Regions from separate parts of the Homo sapiens genome. Here region 1 is linked to region 2. Evidence: promoter capture Hi-C in 16 types of primary human blood cells and fetal thymus (Javierre and others, 2016). All regions are on one chromosome and are shown on one strand. The core of a region is centred on a gene start or on the middle of the fragment in contact, and the rest is flanking DNA. Distances in the headings are between cores, read along the strand shown. Region 1 has its middle 3.8 kb from the start of OLFM2. Region 2 holds the start of ICAM4 (intercellular adhesion molecule 4 (Landsteiner-Wiener blood group)).

What was found. Contacts are between HindIII fragments. The CHiCAGO score rates a contact against its expected background, and 5 or more counts as called.
Region 1: a contact is called between a fragment that was not itself captured here and the fragment with the promoter of ICAM4 in region 2, in 1 of 17 cell types (total B cells). The highest score is 7.0, in total B cells.

Annotation. Positions count from the first base shown.
Region 1 is chr19:9,937,611-9,943,064 of GRCh38, forward strand. No RefSeq gene overlaps it. Among named protein-coding and RNA genes, the nearest start is that of OLFM2, 3.8 kb to the left of the region's middle. The HindIII fragment of the contact is 2,986 bases long and covers 1,172-4,157 here.
Region 2 is chr19:10,283,182-10,288,327 of GRCh38, forward strand. ICAM4 (intercellular adhesion molecule 4 (Landsteiner-Wiener blood group)) reads left to right here and starts at 3,774. Exons shown (of 3, transcript NM_001544.5): 1 at 3,774-4,225; 2 at 4,355-4,657; 3 at 4,805-5,146. The coding sequence starts at 3,832. The coding sequence ends at 4,923. It overlaps ICAM1 (intercellular adhesion molecule 1), which reads left to right. Exons shown (of 7, transcript NM_000201.3): 3 at 300-605; 4 at 852-1,139; 5 at 1,222-1,476; 6 at 1,602-1,847; 7 at 1,934-3,434. The coding sequence ends at 2,106. It overlaps ICAM4-AS1 (ICAM4 antisense RNA 1), which reads right to left. Exons shown (of 1, transcript NR_186335.1): 1 at 2,620-5,146. It overlaps LIMASI (lncRNA inflammatory and mucous response associated, antisense to ICAM1), which reads right to left and starts at 269. Exons shown (of 4, transcript XR_007067138.1): 1 at 140-269. RefSeq lists enhancers at 3,342-3,391, 3,446-4,415, 3,762-3,901. The HindIII fragment of the contact is 2,558 bases long and covers 3,419-5,146 here.

The sequences.
Region 1 (5,454 bases), core at 1,415-3,914, 350 kb before region 2:
GGAGCAAACCTTGTCTCAAAAAAAAAAAAAAAAAAAAAGTGTCCCTAGTCGTCTTTCCTCCCCACAGCCCCTCTAGGGATTCGGATATATGTAGGCAGAGGTGGAGGAGGGGGGCGGGCAAATAAGTCAGATTGGAAAGAAATCGGGCATAAAATATGCGAGGCCAGGAAGCCTGGCATTTTTGTGACCCTGATACTGTTGGGCTAGGAGGGGTCTCCCCAGACGCTGGTGGGGCCTCGACCCCAGCTGGTGTCCAGGCTCTTAACACCATCGCAAGAATGAATTCAAGGAGGAATCAGAAAATCATGAAAAGTTCGGAGATTTTTTTGTTAAGGGAAAAGTCCACACTTGAGAAAAGGGAGTGGGCGTACTTAAGAGAGAGAGATGGGCAAGGTGGTTTGGGACTGCTACCTTTATGTGTCTCTTTTTTTTTTTTTTTTTTTTTTTTTTTGAGACAAAGTCTCGCTCTGTCACCCAGGCTGGAGTGCAGTGGTGTGATCTCGGCTCACTGCAACCTCTGCCTCCCAGGTTCAAGCAATTCTCCTGCCTCAGCCTCCTGAGTAGCTGGGATTACAGGTGTGCGCCATCACAGCCGGCTAATTTTTTGTGTTTTTAGTAGAGACAGGGTTTCACCATATTGGCCAGCCTGGTCTCAAACTCCTGACCTCGTGATCCACCCGCCTTGGCCTCCCAAAGTGCTGAGATTACAGGCGTGAGCCACCACAACAGGCCACTGTGTATCTCTTTAACCAAGGGATGGAATATTCATGAAAACTGGAAAAAGGTGGACTGTGGTGCCACCCACTTTTACACCAAATTTGGGTGTCCCTGGAATTGTCAAGGGCGCTGGTGGGTGGGTAATTTTAGTATTTTAATGAGTACATAATGAGATCCTAGGTGAAACCTAGGTAGAATGTAACGCCATGTTGGGTCCAGTAGGTCTTAGCCAGCTTGGTCCACACCCTGGTTTTCAGGATCTTATCAGCCCATAGCCTCTAGTCATGTGAAACGGCTGCCTGTGACCACCCTGGATCATTCCTGTCTCAACCCTACTGGGGATAAAACATGTCGATGATGGTTTTGTCAGGTCAATGAGAAAGAGCTTGGTGACCCACAGATCTGGGTTCAACCCTGGTGCTGCCACTTCTTGGCCATGTGACCTTAGGGAAAAAGCTTTCCCCCTCTTAGAAGACCTGTTTTTTGCAGTTATTGGGAGACATCTGTGACTCTAAGCAAAGAGAGCACCTAGCTAGCACTCACTCCCCAGCACGCCTTGCAATAACCAACCATGCACTGGGTTGAGGACACTCATCATGGGATGTGGACACAAAATAGAGTCTGAGCCTGCGAAGACATCCTGTTTATTCTTCTATCTCTTTTTTTTTTTTTTTTTTTTGAGATGGAGTCTCACACTGTCACACCCAGGCTGGAGTGCAGTGGCTTGATCTCGGCTTACAACCTCTGCCTTCCGGGTTCAAGGAATTCTCCCGCCTCGGCCTTCCAAGTAGCTGGGATTGCAGGTGCCTGCCACCAGGCCTGTCTAATTTTTCATATTTTTAGTAGAGATGGGGTTTCACCATATTGGCCAGGCTGGTCATGAACTCTTGACCTCAGGTGATCCACCTGCCTCAGCCTCCCAAAGTGCTGGGATTACAGGCATGAGCCACCGCACCCATCCTATTCTTCTATCTCCTTTTCCCAAATGGGAGACAGTCCTTTGTGGGCCCTTCAGGCCAAGCCTGCAGTTGGCATTGCATAAAAGGAGGACATTGGTTGGTAGGACCCACAAGCTCTTGACCAAGAGTGGGTCTCACGGTCAAGAGTCAGCACTCTTGACTCATGAATGCTGCATTTCAGGACCATGAACAGTGTCCTCCTTGGGCTCTGGTCACTAAGACGATCACAGTTACAACTAAGCTACAGCCTGTGTTATATGGTTGGAATTTGGTCGATATGCACTTAGATCTATTCCCCACTTTCCCCCTGCTCCCCTCTGTATCAGGGCAATGGCTCCTGCAAATTATCTTTCTCAGGTTCTCTACACACTACATTTCCCAGGCTTCTTTGCATCTGGTTAGGCTCAGCCAATGGGAGGTCTACAGGCAGATTGGAGGGTGCCAAGAAAGGAGAAGCCAGAGAATTTCCCCCCCTCCACTTTGAGTGTCTCTAGCCATGGCTGCTGTGCCTCCTCTGTGGTCTCAGTCCCATTAGGTATTCCCCACCATGGTGGGGGGTGGGGGCAGGTGACTGGCCAGGTAACTGCAGCTCCTGGATTCAGGTAACTACCACCTCCCTTTGTTGTTTCAGTCCTTGCAAAGATGATAGCTAGCAACTAGAGTTGATTCACCTGCTCCAGTTTGCGCTTAAAACCAACCTAATAGGGCCAGGTGCGGTGGCTCATACCTGTAATCCCAGCACTTTGGGAGGCTGAAGTGGGTGGATCACCTGAGGTCAGGTGTTTGAGACCAGCCTGCCCAACAAGGCAAAATGCTGTCTCTACTAAAAATACAAAAAATTAGCCAGGCATGGTAGCAGGTGTCTGTAATGCCAGCTACTGAGGAGGCTGAGGCAGAAGAATCGCTTGAACCCAGGAGGTAGAGATTGCAGTGAGCTGAGATCATGCCATTGCACTCCAGCCTGGGCAACAATAGTGAAACTCTGTCTCAAAAAAGAAAAAAACAAAAACAAAACCTACCTATCGGCTGAGTGCCATGGCTAACACTTCTAATCCCAACACTTTGGGAGGCTGAGGCAGGTGGATTGTTTGAGCCAAGGAGTTCAAGACCAGCCTGGCCAACATCTCTGTAGAGATGCTGCATCTCTACCAAAAATACAAAAATGAGCCAGGCATGGTGGTGCACACCTGTAGTCTCAGCTACTCAGGAGGCTGAGGTGGGACGATCATCTGAGCCTGAGAAGGTCGAGACTGCAGTGAGCTATGATTACTCCACTGCACTCCAGCCTGGGCAACAGAGTGAGACCCTGTCTCAAAAAACCCCACAAAAGCAAACAAACAAACAAACCTACCTACCTAATACCTCAGTGTGTGGCTAATTAAAGTCCCCATATTAAATTCTTTCTATTGAATTTGCTGGGATGGGCTGTTTTTCTGACTGGACCTTAGTCAATGCATTCGATGCCGTTGGTCGTTGACTGGTATGGTTAGTGGCCCTCTGGGTGTCCTGATGGCATTGTGGTTTGTGTCCTGTTGAACCGGGATCTGTGCTGCCGTCAACATCCTGGTTCTGCCAGGGTCAGCATTGTGGTCAGAATTGTGGTCACTCCTGGTCATTCTTGGTTGTGTTGTGGTCAGTGTGGTGATTAGTACTACAGTCAGTTTCCTGGTTATGCTGTGCTCTGTCCTAGTGCTATGGTCCTTGTCCTGAGCTTGCTGTGGATAATGACCTGGCCAAGCTATGGTCAAAATTATGATTGAGTCATACTAAGGTCAAAGTCACACTCAGCATCCTAGTTGCACTGATATCAGCTTCAAGGTCAGCACTGTGGTTAATGTTAAGAAGAGTGCACTGTCTATGGTGCAGTGGTCAGAATTGTGGGCCATCATTGAAGAGACATCAGGATCCGCTTCTCAAGGATCTATTGTGGCAAAATGGATGAACTGGGGACTCAGGGTCTGGCACTGGGCACAGGTCATTCTCCATGACAGGAAGCAGGGAGGCAGGGCGTTGGATCTTGCCATCTGGCCATTGGGTTTTTCTAATTGGCACTTGGACAGCCAATTAGACAGGAACTTGGACAGCCATGGGTTCCTGTCACCCTCTCACAGCCCACATCTGTTTCCTCACACCCTGCACCACCCACTTCATAGAGAAAATGATCATGAAGTGAATGCCTGCCAACACATACCTTTGCTCTTGCTAATCCCTGAATATATTATTTAGAGGTCCTTTGGTAGAATTTAGCAGAAACTCAACTTGAACTGGATTAAGAAAAAAAATCTATTGGCTCATATAACTTAAACAAAAATGAGGGTAGTGGAATTCAGTCATGGCTGGATCCAGGGTTTCTGTTATATCATCAGGATTCTGTCTCTCTCCATTCCTCATCTCTCATTTCTCATCTCTCATTTCTCATTCCATGCTGTCTTTTGGGAAGGATTCACTTTTAGCCAAGAGATGACAAAGATGGTTTCCAGAAGCTTCTCTCTTCCAAGCTCAGCAGCATCAGCAAAAAGAGAGCTTGCAAAATAATGTCTCATTATGCATCCCAAGTTGTGTGCCCATCCTGAACCAATTATGTATTCAGAGGAATTCATTATTTGGCTTGGCTAGGTCTGGCTCATAGATCACCCCCACGGAGCCAGAGAGTGCAGTTAGCCTTATTCAACCTACATTGGATAGGAAGTGGGAGGTAGAGAAGGATATAGAATGTTGACCACTAAAAGAGAGAAAGGACACTGTACAAGCAAAACCAAAATATATGGTTTTGGGCAGGGGGTGGTTCTTGGCATCATTTCAACCCCCTAGTATGCATTCCTTATTATAGAGCCTGCAAAGCGAAAATACTTCCAGACTCCCTTGCAGCTAAACTTCTGTAGGCCAATTAGGTTTCATCCATTAGAAGCATGAGAAGTGGGTGGTGGAAGAAGGTGGAATTAATCTTCCTGTTATGCTGGTAGAGGCAGCTGCTAAGCACAATTGGGAGACACTGGATTTTCCTGCAGGAATGTTCCTGTTTCCAATTGTGAGAACAACCCGTTTTTGTTGAGAGTCCATTGCAGTAACAATGATGACTGCCTCCGTATCTCTGAATTGCAACTTTCCTGGTGTTTTCATTGTTTTGTTGTTCCTGTTGCTGTTGTTGTTGTTGTTGTTTTTGAGATAGAGTCTCGCTGTGTCACCCAGGCTGGAGTGAAGTGATGGGATCTTGGCTCACTGCAACCTCCACCTCCCAGACTCAAGCAATCCTTCCACCTCAGTCCATCCCAGTAAATGGGACTGCAGTTGCATGCCACCACACCTTGCTAATTTTCTGTATTTTCTGTAGAGATGGAGTCTCTCCATTTGCCTAGGCTTGTCTCAAACTCCTGGGCTCAAGGGATCCACCCGCATTGGCCTCCCAAAGTGCTAGGATTACAGGCGTGAGTCACCACGCCCAGCCATGCTGTTCCTTTTTATGGTTCAATAATATTCCATTGTGTGGATATCCCATATTTTGTTCATTAATTATGGTGATGTAGTCTTAAAGTCAAAAATCCCCACTCTAGGGGATAATTCTCCACCTCCCTGCTAATAATAGAGGCAGAAGCTCCTGCTTGGGTGAGTTGGGAGGTGATGGTTTTTGTTTTGTTTTTGTTTTTGTTTTGAGATGGAGCCTCGCTCTGTTGCCCAGGCTGGAGTGCAGTGGTACAATCTCAGCTCACTGCAACCTCCACCTCCTGGATTCAAGCAATTCTCCTGCTTCAGCCTCCAGAGTAACTGGGATTACAGGCAC
Region 2 (5,146 bases), core at 2,524-5,023:
TGCACTGGGCTGCTGAATTTATTTGACCAGACACCTAGCAATAGACTTTGAAGTTCTTTTCCACTTTTCACTCTAAGATGCTGCTGTCATGAATAAGGAATATTTTGATCCCCTTCACAAACACTCGGGGCCCTCTTACCAGTTTTCACTGAAGATCTTGACATTCCTATCTGCTTAGGTGTCTGGGCGTGTTTGGGGGAGATACTGAAGAGGTAGGGCTCCCAGGCAGGTGCAGTTCGTCTGTTAGGCAGGCAGCAAGGTCCACTTCACCAGACACCCCCACCTCTGTTTTCCTGCAGGGACTCCAGAACGGGTGGAACTGGCACCCCTCCCCTCTTGGCAGCCAGTGGGCAAGAACCTTACCCTACGCTGCCAGGTGGAGGGTGGGGCACCCCGGGCCAACCTCACCGTGGTGCTGCTCCGTGGGGAGAAGGAGCTGAAACGGGAGCCAGCTGTGGGGGAGCCCGCTGAGGTCACGACCACGGTGCTGGTGAGGAGAGATCACCATGGAGCCAATTTCTCGTGCCGCACTGAACTGGACCTGCGGCCCCAAGGGCTGGAGCTGTTTGAGAACACCTCGGCCCCCTACCAGCTCCAGACCTTTGGTGAGGATTGAAGAAGCCAGCAGGGAGAAGGTGGGGGTGGGGTATCCTGCAATGCGGTGCCTGTGGCCACAGGATCTTTTGAGATGGGTGTGGCCCCGGCTAAGGGGTGCATGTGTTCTAGGCGTATGTGACCTAGGCTGCTGAGTGGCCCTGGAAGAGGATCTCGCAGGAGGGGGAATGAAATGCCCCAGAGAAGGGCTTCGGGACGTCCATCCCTGTCTGCTCACACCTTTCTTCTCTCCCTAGTCCTGCCAGCGACTCCCCCACAACTTGTCAGCCCCCGGGTCCTAGAGGTGGACACGCAGGGGACCGTGGTCTGTTCCCTGGACGGGCTGTTCCCAGTCTCGGAGGCCCAGGTCCACCTGGCACTGGGGGACCAGAGGTTGAACCCCACAGTCACCTATGGCAACGACTCCTTCTCGGCCAAGGCCTCAGTCAGTGTGACCGCAGAGGACGAGGGCACCCAGCGGCTGACGTGTGCAGTAATACTGGGGAACCAGAGCCAGGAGACACTGCAGACAGTGACCATCTACAGTAAGAAGGGGCAGGGGCGGAGTGGGGCTTCTTGGGGGTGTGACCTGAACCCGGGGCGGGGCTCACTGTGTGCCTATTCCAGGCTTTCCGGCGCCCAACGTGATTCTGACGAAGCCAGAGGTCTCAGAAGGGACCGAGGTGACAGTGAAGTGTGAGGCCCACCCTAGAGCCAAGGTGACGCTGAATGGGGTTCCAGCCCAGCCACTGGGCCCGAGGGCCCAGCTCCTGCTGAAGGCCACCCCAGAGGACAACGGGCGCAGCTTCTCCTGCTCTGCAACCCTGGAGGTGGCCGGCCAGCTTATACACAAGAACCAGACCCGGGAGCTTCGTGTCCTGTGTGAGTGGGGCTGCTGGTCAATGGCCCCTATCCCCCAAGGCCCAATCTCCCTGAAGGTCCCATAAGGTCTTGCCTCCAAGTCCTGCCCCCACCCACCTCCATGTCATCTCATCGTGTTTTTCCAGATGGCCCCCGACTGGACGAGAGGGATTGTCCGGGAAACTGGACGTGGCCAGAAAATTCCCAGCAGACTCCAATGTGCCAGGCTTGGGGGAACCCATTGCCCGAGCTCAAGTGTCTAAAGGATGGCACTTTCCCACTGCCCATCGGGGAATCAGTGACTGTCACTCGAGATCTTGAGGGCACCTACCTCTGTCGGGCCAGGAGCACTCAAGGGGAGGTCACCCGCAAGGTGACCGTGAATGTGCTCTGTGAGTGAGCCGGCGGGCAGAGCTGGGTGGGGGCAGGGGCCATGGACCTAATGCAATCCTCACCGCCTGTTGTATCCTCCCCACAGCCCCCCGGTATGAGATTGTCATCATCACTGTGGTAGCAGCCGCAGTCATAATGGGCACTGCAGGCCTCAGCACGTACCTCTATAACCGCCAGCGGAAGATCAAGAAATACAGACTACAACAGGCCCAAAAAGGGACCCCCATGAAACCGAACACACAAGCCACGCCTCCCTGAACCTATCCCGGGACAGGGCCTCTTCCTCGGCCTTCCCATATTGGTGGCAGTGGTGCCACACTGAACAGAGTGGAAGACATATGCCATGCAGCTACACCTACCGGCCCTGGGACGCCGGAGGACAGGGCATTGTCCTCAGTCAGATACAACAGCATTTGGGGCCATGGTACCTGCACACCTAAAACACTAGGCCACGCATCTGATCTGTAGTCACATGACTAAGCCAAGAGGAAGGAGCAAGACTCAAGACATGATTGATGGATGTTAAAGTCTAGCCTGATGAGAGGGGAAGTGGTGGGGGAGACATAGCCCCACCATGAGGACATACAACTGGGAAATACTGAAACTTGCTGCCTATTGGGTATGCTGAGGCCCCACAGACTTACAGAAGAAGTGGCCCTCCATAGACATGTGTAGCATCAAAACACAAAGGCCCACACTTCCTGACGGATGCCAGCTTGGGCACTGCTGTCTACTGACCCCAACCCTTGATGATATGTATTTATTCATTTGTTATTTTACCAGCTATTTATTGAGTGTCTTTTATGTAGGCTAAATGAACATAGGTCTCTGGCCTCACGGAGCTCCCAGTCCTAATCACATTCAAGGTCACCAGGTACAGTTGTACAGGTTGTACACTGCAGGAGAGTGCCTGGCAAAAAGATCAAATGGGGCTGGGACTTCTCATTGGCCAACCTGCCTTTCCCCAGAAGGAGTGATTTTTCTATCGGCACAAAAGCACTATATGGACTGGTAATGGTTACAGGTTCAGAGATTACCCAGTGAGGCCTTATTCCTCCCTTCCCCCCAAAACTGACACCTTTGTTAGCCACCTCCCCACCCACATACATTTCTGCCAGTGTTCACAATGACACTCAGCGGTCATGTCTGGACATGAGTGCCCAGGGAATATGCCCAAGCTATGCCTTGTCCTCTTGTCCTGTTTGCATTTCACTGGGAGCTTGCACTATGCAGCTCCAGTTTCCTGCAGTGATCAGGGTCCTGCAAGCAGTGGGGAAGGGGGCCAAGGTATTGGAGGACTCCCTCCCAGCTTTGGAAGCCTCATCCGCGTGTGTGTGTGTGTGTATGTGTAGACAAGCTCTCGCTCTGTCACCCAGGCTGGAGTGCAGTGGTGCAATCATGGTTCACTGCAGTCTTGACCTTTTGGGCTCAAGTGATCCTCCCACCTCAGCCTCCTGAGTAGCTGGGACCATAGGCTCACAACACCACACCTGGCAAATTTGATTTTTTTTTTTTTTCCAGAGACGGGGTCTCGCAACATTGCCCAGACTTCCTTTGTGTTAGTTAATAAAGCTTTCTCAACTGCCTCAGCCTTGTGTGAGTTGAGGGGAGGTGTCACATCCAGCTGGAGTCCTTTCTAAGCAGCCACAGCCTGATCCTCCCACTTCCTCCCCCAAGAAAACATTGTGGGTTGATGGCCATACCCTGAGGTTCTGGTCCAAATCGGACTTTCTATGACCTTCTGGGTCTCTAGTGAAAACTAAAGACTCCTCTCCAGAAAAAAACATTTGGTTTCTAATGAGGCCTGGAATCTTATTCTTGACCTGGGGAGCGGAATCCCTTTTTGCAGTACTCCCGGGCCCTCTGTTGGGGCCTCCCCTTCCTCTCCAGGGTGGAGTCGAGGAGGCGGGGCTGCGGGCCTCCTTATCTCTAGAGCCGGCCCTGGCTCTCTGGCGCGGGGCCCCTTAGTCCGGGCTTTTTGCCATGGGGTCTCTGTTCCCTCTGTCGCTGCTGTTTTTTTTGGCGGCCGCCTACCCGGGAGTTGGGAGCGCGCTGGGACGCCGGACTAAGCGGGCGCAAAGCCCCAAGGGTAGCCCTCTCGCGCCCTCCGGGACCTCAGTGCCCTTCTGGGTGCGCATGAGCCCGGAGTTCGTGGCTGTGCAGCCGGGGAAGTCAGTGCAGCTCAATTGCAGCAACAGCTGTCCCCAGCCGCAGAATTCCAGCCTCCGCACCCCGCTGCGGCAAGGCAAGACGCTCAGAGGGCCGGGTTGGGTGTCTTACCAGCTGCTCGACGTGAGGGCCTGGAGCTCCCTCGCGCACTGCCTCGTGACCTGCGCAGGAAAAACACGCTGGGCCACCTCCAGGATCACCGCCTACAGTGAGGGACAGGGGCTCGGTCCCGGCTGGGGTGAGGGGAGGGGGCTGGAAGAGGTGGGGGAAGGGTAGTTGACAGTCGCTCTATAGGGAGCGCCCGCGGACCTCACTCAGAGGCTCCCCCTTGCCTTAGAACCGCCCCACAGCGTGATTTTGGAGCCTCCGGTCTTAAAGGGCAGGAAATACACTTTGCGCTGCCACGTGACGCAGGTGTTCCCGGTGGGCTACTTGGTGGTGACCCTGAGGCATGGAAGCCGGGTCATCTATTCCGAAAGCCTGGAGCGCTTCACCGGCCTGGATCTGGCCAACGTGACCTTGACCTACGAGTTTGCTGCTGGACCCCGCGACTTCTGGCAGCCCGTGATCTGCCACGCGCGCCTCAATCTCGACGGCCTGGTGGTCCGCAACAGCTCGGCACCCATTACACTGATGCTCGGTGAGGCACCCCTGTAACCCTGGGGACTAGGAGGAAGGGGGCAGAGAGAGTTATGACCCCGAGAGGGCGCACAGACCAAGCGTGAGCTCCACGCGGGTCGACAGACCTCCCTGTGTTCCGTTCCTAATTCTCGCCTTCTGCTCCCAGCTTGGAGCCCCGCGCCCACAGCTTTGGCCTCCGGTTCCATCGCTGCCCTTGTAGGGATCCTCCTCACTGTGGGCGCTGCGTACCTATGCAAGTGCCTAGCTATGAAGTCCCAGGCGTAAAGGGGGATGTTCTATGCCGGCTGAGCGAGAAAAAGAGGAATATGAAACAATCTGGGGAAATGGCCATACATGGTGGCTGACGCCTGTAATCCCAGCACTTTGGGAGGCCGAGGCAGGAGAATCGCTTGAGCCCAGGAGTTCGAGACCAGCCTGGACAACATAGTGAGACCCCGTCTATGCAAAAAATACACAAATTAGCCTGGTGTGGTGGCCCGCACCTGTG